Regions from separate parts of the Homo sapiens genome. Here region 2 is linked to region 1. Evidence: promoter capture Hi-C in 16 types of primary human blood cells and fetal thymus (Javierre and others, 2016). All regions are on one chromosome and are shown on one strand. Each heading gives the region's core, a stretch centred on a gene start or on the middle of the fragment in contact. The rest is flanking DNA. Distances are from core to core; before and after follow the strand shown.

The links. Contacts are between HindIII fragments. The CHiCAGO score rates a contact against its expected background, and 5 or more counts as called.
Region 2: a contact is called between a fragment that was not itself captured here and the fragment with the promoter of PPP1R3B in region 1, in 1 of 17 cell types (M2 macrophages). The highest score is 5.1, in M2 macrophages.

Annotation. Positions count from the first base shown.
Region 1 is chr8:9,147,352-9,152,073 of GRCh38, forward strand. It overlaps PPP1R3B (protein phosphatase 1 regulatory subunit 3B), which reads right to left and starts at 3,307. Exons shown (of 2, transcript NM_024607.4): 1 at 3,212-3,307. PPP1R3B-DT (PPP1R3B divergent transcript) reads left to right here and starts at 4,374. Exons shown (of 5, transcript NR_183348.1): 1 at 4,374-4,565. RefSeq lists enhancers at 2,707-3,655, 3,702-3,941 and silencers at 3,292-3,561, 4,062-4,311. The HindIII fragment of the contact is 22,346 bases long and covers 1-4,722 here.
Region 2 is chr8:9,332,831-9,337,543 of GRCh38, forward strand. LOC157273 (a long non-coding RNA gene) reads left to right here. Exons shown (of 3, transcript NR_040039.1): 3 at 1-2,250. Among named protein-coding and RNA genes, the nearest start is that of PPP1R3B-DT, 180 kb to the left of the region's middle. The HindIII fragment of the contact is 4,936 bases long and covers 1-4,047 here.

The sequences.
Region 1 (4,722 bases), core at 2,057-4,556:
AGTGCCCCCCACTCTACCCATCCTGAAAAATCTGGGTGTGAACTGAGGGAGGAAGGGTTCCTCTTCACAGCTTCCTCCTCAACTGAGTCAGCACAGGTTATCTGCAAGTTCTCTTTGCACTTCCAAGAAGCCTGCAAACCAGCCTCCTACGTGCTTTTTCTGCATGTTAGGAAAAGCCTTGGAAACTCTCAAGATATTGTGGAAACAGCCAAAGCAAAAGGATCAATCAAAGAATCTACACACAGCCCACTAGAGCCAATGTCCCAAGTTCTAATCCCGCAGGCTGAAGAGACTTAGCTGAAGACCTTGGTAGAGTTTCACTGTTTCACCCCAGTGGCATAAATTTGTCCCTGAGATCCCTTTTTATCACCAAGCTGTAAGAACAAGCAGAAGTCCGGCTTGGAGAGGCCAGGCTCTAGTCAGAGCCAGAGCTAATTAAACAATGCTGCTGGCACTTGAAGGAGCCAAACTGCTATTACAAGATTCTTCCATGAAAGGCAAAAGTAAGGTTATGATGGCTCAAGAGTTACCCGCAGGACTACTACCCCAGGGACATTGCACAAGCAACCCCAGTCTAGAATCCCTTCACTTTGTGTGTCACCATAACTGCAGGTGAGGACATTAACCTGTGTGGCCTCAATCTGGGGTATGACTCGACTGTCAGTCACCTTGCCTGTCCCACAGATAGCTTCCAGATTTTATTTACCAGGTCATTCTCCAAGAATCAGCACACCAAAGTGCTGGTTTGGTGTAGGCTTTCCTGAACTGCTCAGGAACTCCCCAGCGGACTGTGACAGGGATGGCTGCCGCCATGCAGAAGTACTCCTAGCAACTGAGATGTGCAAGGTAATATTAAGTTCCTGAAAAGAAGGCACCTGGACAGGTGCTTCTTTTACAAATGACATGAAAATGATCGGTTCCAACACAGGAAGCACCAGGCTGCAGCCCAGCCTCCTCTCCTGACAGACTCTCTGGCTGCTCCAGCTCTGTCCTTTTCCCAGGCCAGGGAATATGAGTCACCAAAGTTGGCCAAGGGGGAAAAAAAAAGAACCAGAAGTTATGGACATACATTTGAACCATGAGAGCAGGACTCAGGATCTGATACCAGTTGCAGGATAGGAATGAGTGTATGAGTGCTGCTCCCAGGTAGGTATGAATTCTCAAACACTTGCTTCCATAGAGATGCCTCAGAGCTCAGGGATCAGTTTCTCTGGTGAGAGACTGGGCCATGCTTGAGGGTAGATTACAGTGTTCATGGCTAAGACAGGGCAAACCCTAACAGATCATGGAGATAGTTTTGCATAAATGCTTTATCTGTTCCACTCATAACACACCTTCTCAAGACAGCTGGCCAAGGTTAGACGGCCATGGTGATAACTATAGACCTGCACAGAAAATAACCCTATGACCTTCACGGTTTCAGGCAGCTGAACTACTGACTTTCTGGCTGTACCTTTCATAGGGAGGAAATCTTTTTTGTATCAGGGCCACGACATTATCCCCTCCATTCTCTTATTCTCTCTCTCTCTTTCTTCTGGTAAGAAAAGACAAAAAGGCCGGGCGTGGTGGCTCACGCCTGTAATCCCAGCACTTTGGGAGGCCGAGGCGGGCGGATCACGAGATCAGGAGATCGAGACCATCCTGGCGAACACGGTGAAACCCCGTCTCTACTAAAAATACAAAAAAAAAAAATTAGCCGGGCGTGGCGGCGGGCGCCTGTAGTCCCAGCTACTCAGGAGGCCGAGGCAGGAGAATGGCGCGAACCCGGGAGGCGGAGCTTGCAGTGAGCCGAGATGGCGCCACTGCAGTCCAGCCTGGGCGACAGAGCGAAACTACGTCTCAAAAAAAAAAAAAAAAGGCAAAAAAAGGCCGGGCGTGGTGGCTCACGCCTGTAATCCCAGCACTTTGGGAGGCCGAGGCGGGCAGATCACGAGGTCAGGAGATCGACACCATCCTGGCTAACACGGTGAAACCCCGTCTCTACTAAAAATACAAATAAAAATTAGCTGGGCGTGGTGGCGGGCGCCTGTAGTCCCAGCTACTCAGGAGGCCGAGGCAGGAGAATGGCGTGAACCCGGGAGGCGGAGCTTACAATGAGCCAGAGATGGCGCCACTGCACTCCAGCCTGGGCGACAGAGCGACACTCCGTCTCAAAACAAACAAACAAAACCAAACAAACAAAAAAATCAGATGCACAAGCAACCCACCAGGAACACTGAAAGCTGCCGAACTGCATTCAGTAAACATTCACAACCAGGTTATAATTTTCATTTTTAAAGACATGGCCATCTACCTCCCTCCAACAATTCTGTGTTCCCTTCCAAAAGGTTTCACTGATCCAGCATGAAGAGAGTGCATGTCTTTCCCCTTTGTACTCAGACCATGGGGGCCTATTCACAGCCTTAAAGGCTCCTTGTACCCCTTGATCCTGTCCCCATCATCCAAAGCATCTTGGAGACTGACATTTGTGAATACAGTTGCATATTCTAGGAAAGAGGCAAGTTCAAATGACACAGCCCCTGCCGTCTAAAAACGTACGAGGGAAAACAGAGTACTAGGCTAAGAATGCCCGCACCTTGCTTTGCTACTTGAGCGAGTCACTCAGCTGCTCTGGGCTTGAGGTCCCCTCCAAGGTCCCTGCTGGCCCTGACATTGTATGTTGCGACCCACCCCTGGTGCCGCTTCTCTTCCCACTAACTTTTTTTCCTAAATACCTCAACTGTACTTTTGTGTAAGTCCTCCAGCTGTCTTCACTTTAGTTTTGGCTCCTGGACAACTCTGCCCAAGGAAACATTTCCTCCTCTCCTCCTCTTCCTCCCAGACCAAAGCTCTAATTGTCTCTTCTGCTGCACCCTGGGTCTCCCAGGCAGGCCCCCGCCACTCAGACCACAGGTTCCAACACCTTCCAAGTCTCCAAGTTCCCAAGTCCAGTCTTTCCTCTGTTTTCTCCTCTTTTTCAGAAAACAGTGCTCTGACAGGCCCCAAATCTTCCAGTAAGTCATTACCGGCCCCCACTCCCTCTTTTGCAGCTACTGTGCCTTCCACACCCCTTTTTCTGGATTCCAAAGAGACGCAGGAGCAGGCCAGTGCTCTCCAGGCTGGAGGATCCCACAAGTTACTCTCCGACTCTGTCCCCTCCGTCCAGTTTGACCAGGGCTGCACTCCGCCCCCAACCTCCCTACAAGCCTCCTTGGCCTCGCGCCGCACCCACCTTTTGGGCCGCGGAGAAGCCCCCTCCCCAGCTCGCTCGCCGCATCGGAGAGCCCGCAGGGTTGTGGCAAGCGCGACTACGTGAGCGTCGGTGTGTCCGGGAGGCAGGGCCTGGGCTGGGTTCCCGGAGATGTCGGCGGTGGGAGGAAGACGACGAGGAGGAGGAGCCCGTTATCGCACCCGGGCGGGGCCGGCAAAGGGGCAACCCCGGCCGGAGCAAGCAGCGCGACACCAGCACCCCCGCGCGGCCGCCTGGCCTCCGCCAGCCCGGGACGGGGATCGTGCTAGGTCCCGTCGCCCTCGGTGGCCTGAGAGCCTACCAAGTGTATTTCCTCGCGTTTTATAGGGAAAATAAGGCCCGGAGAGAGACGAAGCGGCTTGTCCTTAAGCTCCAAACCCCACTACCCAACTTTGGAGAAGTCTCCAGACCTCTCGGGACCCGGGGCTGGGAACTTGTGCTAGTTTCGAAGCCAGAACAACAGGTGGTAAAGGGATCAGCCGCCGCAGCCGCAGCTCCCGGGTCACGGTCGCAGCCGGGCCCAGCAGCGCGGTGGAGCACGTGGGCCCGGGAGGCGCTTCCCAGCTGCGGTCCCTGGATCGCCCTCTCCACGCTGAAGCAACAGCTCCCTGGGGCCAGCTACCTAGAGTGTTCCAGCCCCGGTGTGCCAGTGCAAGTCGCACGGTGAAAATGTAGGTGACAGGAACCCAAAGAGGTCCCCGCTGCACGCCCTCGCCTTGTTGTCCCCAGCCCTTCCCTCGGACTCGAGACTTGGGGAGCTACGTACCGGGTTCAGCTCATAAGTCCCGAGGGCAGACGCGCCAGCCCGCGGCAGCATACGCCCTGGGGGAACAGGGACAGCTGCCGTGACGGCAGGAGCTGGGCCCGGGCTCGGGTTCGCGCCCCCCGCGGGCGGCGAAGTCCGTCCGTGCACGAGAGCTGCGCGGTCACCTCCTCCCTCCAGCAGTCACCCGGGACTCGAGCTCCCCGCGGCCGCGCTGCCCCCTTTAACTTTCCTGCCAGCTCTCGGGACCCCGGGGTCCATCCCAGGCCCCCTGCCACGTGAACGCCCCCCGCAGCCAATGGGCGCGCCCGGGACTCCAGCCGCCGACCAATGGGCGCGCAGCCACGGCGCTGGGGAGCACCGCTTCGCCACGTGATCGGCAGCGCGCCCGGAGTGATCCGGCTGCGGGCCAGGGTCTGGGAAGGGGGTGGTGGGTCGCCGTTTCATCAGAAGCCGGAGGACGGGCGCCAGGGGGCAACTTCCTACAGGAGGGCGTCCCGTTAGAATGACAGGGCTTTTGCAAAAGTCTGACACCCGTGGCACAGAGCGCCCCAGATATGGAGGGTTTCACAGGTAGGTATACTTCAGAAGAAATTTCCTGACTTGAATCGGTTATAATCGCTATCTAAATCTACAGGGCCTCCGCGATGCATATTATGCACCTTGAGATCTATAGAAAATGGTCTTAGAAAAAGAAAAAAATGATGACCTTAAAGAGTTTGAATCAGAG
Region 2 (4,713 bases), core at 330-2,829, 180 kb after region 1:
CTATTCAGTATCAAGAAAGACTTAATCAGCAGTGAATACTCTCCACCAAGCCCTTGACCCATTGTCAGTCTCTGGCATCAGATCCTTTCCAGTAGGGCAAAGTGCAACTGCAGCCAGCTCATGCCTTCAAGAGAAGGACTGAAGATCATTGTGTGCCTAAACCAAGTAAGTCTAACTGCTCCTTCACCAGCTCACCCAAAACTATAGGGGCCTTCTACAGTCACGTTCCCATAGCTCTGGGAATTCCTCCAGACTTGAACTCTGGTTTGGCTTCCCCAGTTTATATCCTATGCTTCATACCAAGGTCTTCCCACTTTGCCTATCCTACAAGAAGTAGTGGCCAGGTTGGACTTTCTGATAAGTTTGGAGATTGCTTCTTGGCTGACCCTTGGTACCTTGTTCTACTAGCCACAGCTAAGCTCCACAAAGCCTAGGTGAGTGGGACACTGCAACCCAGCCCAGACCCAACACTATGACCTTCTACCAGTTGAGCATGGGATCAAGATGAGACTTCTAGTGCCAATACTAAAGACTATGAGGTTTGCAAGGTGAAGTTCACTGTCAACCTCTTATAGTCCATAACAAATATTTCTAGTTTGTTCACTCATTGAGTCATCCAACAAGTATTTATAGAGCAACCGTCAAGTGCCATATACATTCCATGGTGTTAGGGATATAGCAGGGAAAATGTCAGACAAGGTTTCTACTCATAGAATCCATATTCTACTATTGGAGGAAAAGAGATAGCACATATAGCATCAGTCATTGTCAATGATCTTAAATGTCTGAAGACAATTAGCTTTATAAGATGTAAGTGACTGAGAGGGAAGGGCTATTTTAGACAAAATGCTCAAGGAATTAGCTCTGGGAATATGATGTTTAAACAGAGATCTGAATGACAAGAAGAAGCCAGCATGCCAATGTTGGTGGGCAGAGTATACTGGGTAGAGAGACCAGCACAAGTACAAAACTCTAAAGTGGGAATGAACCTGGATGAGTCTGAAGGATGGGAAAAAGAATCATGTGGCTGGATTTGATGAGCAAAGAGGTGAATAAGAGGAAAAATTAAGTCAAACAGGAAGACACAGACTAGATCATGTAAGGCCTTGGTAAGTGATATGGTTTGGCTGTGTCCCCACCCAAATCTCATCTTGAATTGTAGTTCCCATAATTCCCACTGTTGTGGGAGGGACCCAGTGGGAGATAATTGAATCATGGGGGTGATTACCCCATGCTGCTGTTCTCATGACAGTGAGCGAGTTTTCACGAGATCTGATGGTTTTATAAGTTTTATAAGGGGTTTTCCCCCCTTTTGCTCGGCACTTCTCTCTTGCCTGCCACCATGTAAGACATACCTTTGCTTCTCCTTCTCCTTCTGCCATGATTGTGAGGCCTCCCACCCATGTAGAACTGTGAGTCCATTAAACCTCTTTTCCCTTATAAATTACCCAGTCTCAGATATGTCTTTCTTAGCAGCATGAGAACAAACTAATACAGTAAATTTGCATAAGACATTTGCCCTTCCCTTTGAAAGCAATGGGAAGCCATGCTCTGCATACTCAGAATAAGAGTGAGATTGGAAACCATGGTGATTGAAGACCTATTGGGAGTGAAGACTTGAGCCTTGAAGGAGAGAGTGACTGCAAAGTTTCTCAGATATCTGCAACTGGGGATGATATCTGGATGGGATGCCTGGGCCCTGGGGTTAGTGAGGAGTTCAAAGAAGAAGGAGCAGAAATGGATTCAGGAGAGAGTGAGCAGAGACTCAATGTTCTGTAAGTAAGTGCTCCTACAGGGGAAGGGTTAGAGAGGTCGGTAGAGGGGCCCAGGATTCCGGGAAGCTGGAGATTCCAGCTCTAAGACATGCTATTGTAGCCTCAAGACAGATGCACAATTATAGGTTGCAACAGTGGAGTGATTTTGAAGAAGCAAAAATACTCAGTGCAATGGACTGAATGTTAGTGTCCTTCCAAAATTCATATGTTGAAACCCTAATCTACTATGTGTTAGGATTAGGAGGTAAAGCCATTGGGAGGTAATGAGGGTGGAGTTCTCAGGAATAGGATTGGTGCTCTTATCAACAGAACCCCAGATAGCTCTCTCGCCCTCACTCCACCACATGAGGATACAAGAAGTCTGCAGTGTGCAATCTGGAAAGGGCCCTCAACAGAACCCGACCATGCTGACACTTTGATCTTGGACTTCCAGGCTCCAGAACTGGGAGAAATAAACTTCTGTTGTTTGCATGTCACCCAGTCTATGGGGTACTTTGTTGTGGCAGCCCAAATGGGCCAAAACACCCACATTCATCACTAGCAGGCCCTGGACATATTATCCTATTGATTCTCAGCTCCGCTCTCTTGCACCGTGGGCACCCTAAAACAAGACACATATGTAAAAATACATGTAAACATGGCACCCTGATATGTACGCAGGGTGGGCCCCAGATGTGCCTAGCATGCTAACAGTATAAATCCTGGCCTCAGGCAAACGGCCTTCTTGACCTTCCAAAGGACTAATAAGCAGCCCTCCCTTGAGAAGGCCTTTCTCCTTTCATGATTGTTCCTTTTCTTGCATGGTAGATTTTACCTTTGCTAATATGCAGTGGTTAAAAAAAAGAAAAAAAGGAAAGGAAAAAAAGCAACCCTACCAAATAGAAGGGACTTTGAAAGTGTGAAGACTGCTCAGTTCTCTGACAAGCCCTGCTGCCTGAGTCCCCAGTGGGGCACTGGAATAAAATTAGGACTGTATGAAGGATGAATGGGTCGTCTGTCTCCTGCAGAGCCCTGCCGTGTGGACAGGGCCAGAGTCATCACTTGGTGCATAAGCTGGAATAGAGCGCCTTTCATTCAGAGTTCCCAGGACACTTCACAGCTGCTAAAATGATCCTAAGCAAATATTTGTAGCCACACAATACAGGTGGGAATATGGAGGTACCAAGAAGAAAAAGGATTGGCCAAAACCCCCAGAGTCAACTCCAGAGGTAGGACCAGAAGCCAGGACCTGAGCCAGTTCAGGGCTCTGTCGGCAGGATCAGGCCTGGGAAAGGAGGGTGGGATTTCGTGACTAAGAAGAGTGGTGATCAAACAAATTTGGGGGGTCCACAGTAACAGCTGGCTGTGAGCCCACTGCTTCCTAATCCAGTGCCACTCAGGCAAGTGTGTTCGGTGCCTTGGTGACCTGCAGCTCTAAGTGGCTAGAGAGCTTTAATAATTCAAGGCCTCTGATTAGACTGACAGTGTCTGTCCGAGGGAGATGTGCTGTTGAGTGTTTTCTGTGTTCCAGACAAATTCACTTACAGTTTCAATTAAGCCCATTTCTTGTATACTGGGGCCCAAAAGGCAAACGCACAAAACGGGCATGTGATTGTGCTGCCAAGACAAGGGTGAGCACAAGATAGTCTGCCTACCAGAGGCTGTAGGCTGGAGTCCAGGTTGAGACTTGAAGTCAAGATAAAAAAGCGTGCTTGAATATGGTCTTTCAGGGTGGAGACTGCCACATTCTTGTCACTATTGATCTTCAAATAAACAAAACTCCAATAAAATGTTATCATTTGGAATCAATTGGAATTGATTTGCTGGATGGCAGGCAAGGCAGAAAGGATTTGGGAGGGAGGAAAAGAAAGAGAGAAAATAAGCTGGGCTTCAGGACCCATGACAGGCTGCCACCAACACAGCGCTGTCACCCCATGTGGTCCTCCCAAGGGCTTCTCCCAAGGCTTGGATGTAAACAGAGGCCTCCCCCAGATGCCAGAAACTCCACAGAGCTTCAGGGCTCATCGAAAACCTCCCACATGGCCTTGGAGAGGTCAGCGGCCATTCTGGCAGTACAGACTATACAAATTCAAATGCCAATGCCTCCATTGCTAGCTGTGGGATCTTGGGCAAATCATATCATCTCTTAGCGTCTCATTTCTCTGGGCACGAATAGCCTGTACCTGACAGGATTGTGAAGTAAGAAGCTGACAGAGTGAAGAAGCACTTAGCACACAGCTGGCCTGCAGCAAGAGCTCAAAGCATCAGTCTTTATTCTTATGATTATGCGCCAAGCTTAGGGCACCCCAGAACTTACTTATTTCCACTCCCTCTTCAATGCAGATCCAAATTCACTCTTGGGTCCAATTTAACTTGGCAGTTACACATAAGACCTAATTCCCAAATTAAAGAGCTTTGGACAAAAGTCCACCTTTGATGGCAAGTGAGGAAGGAAGCCAGGCAGTGTTGACAAGTCCTTCATCACTGACACTTTGCTCAGCCTCAGTCAAGGCTAGCCCCGGGTAAAAACGAGAGACAGGCCAAATTTGCTGTCATTGAGGTGCACCTCTCTAGCGCCTACCATCCCAGGATTTATGAGCCCCACAAGGGCTGGGGCGTTGGCACAGCCTGTCACCCTGAATCAGTAGACAGTCTTCCAGTGAAGTCGCCCAGCAAGGAAGCATGTCTGCAAAAGGGAGTGAGAACCAGCTCCGCTGGGGACACGCGCAGTCTGGAGCTGGCAAGGTGGAGCCAGGGAGAAGCAGAGCAGAGGGGGCCGATCTCCAAGCTGGGCCGGGCCCCAGCAATGGAAAGGCATCTTGTATACTGTAGAGGGACACACAGATGTTAAGGGTGTTATCCTATGATTGTTACTACTTTTCATTGGAAAGCCAGTTGTTTAATATCAACAAAGTAGTCAACAAAACAAAGGAAACCAGAGAGATCTGGGTCTGTGGCT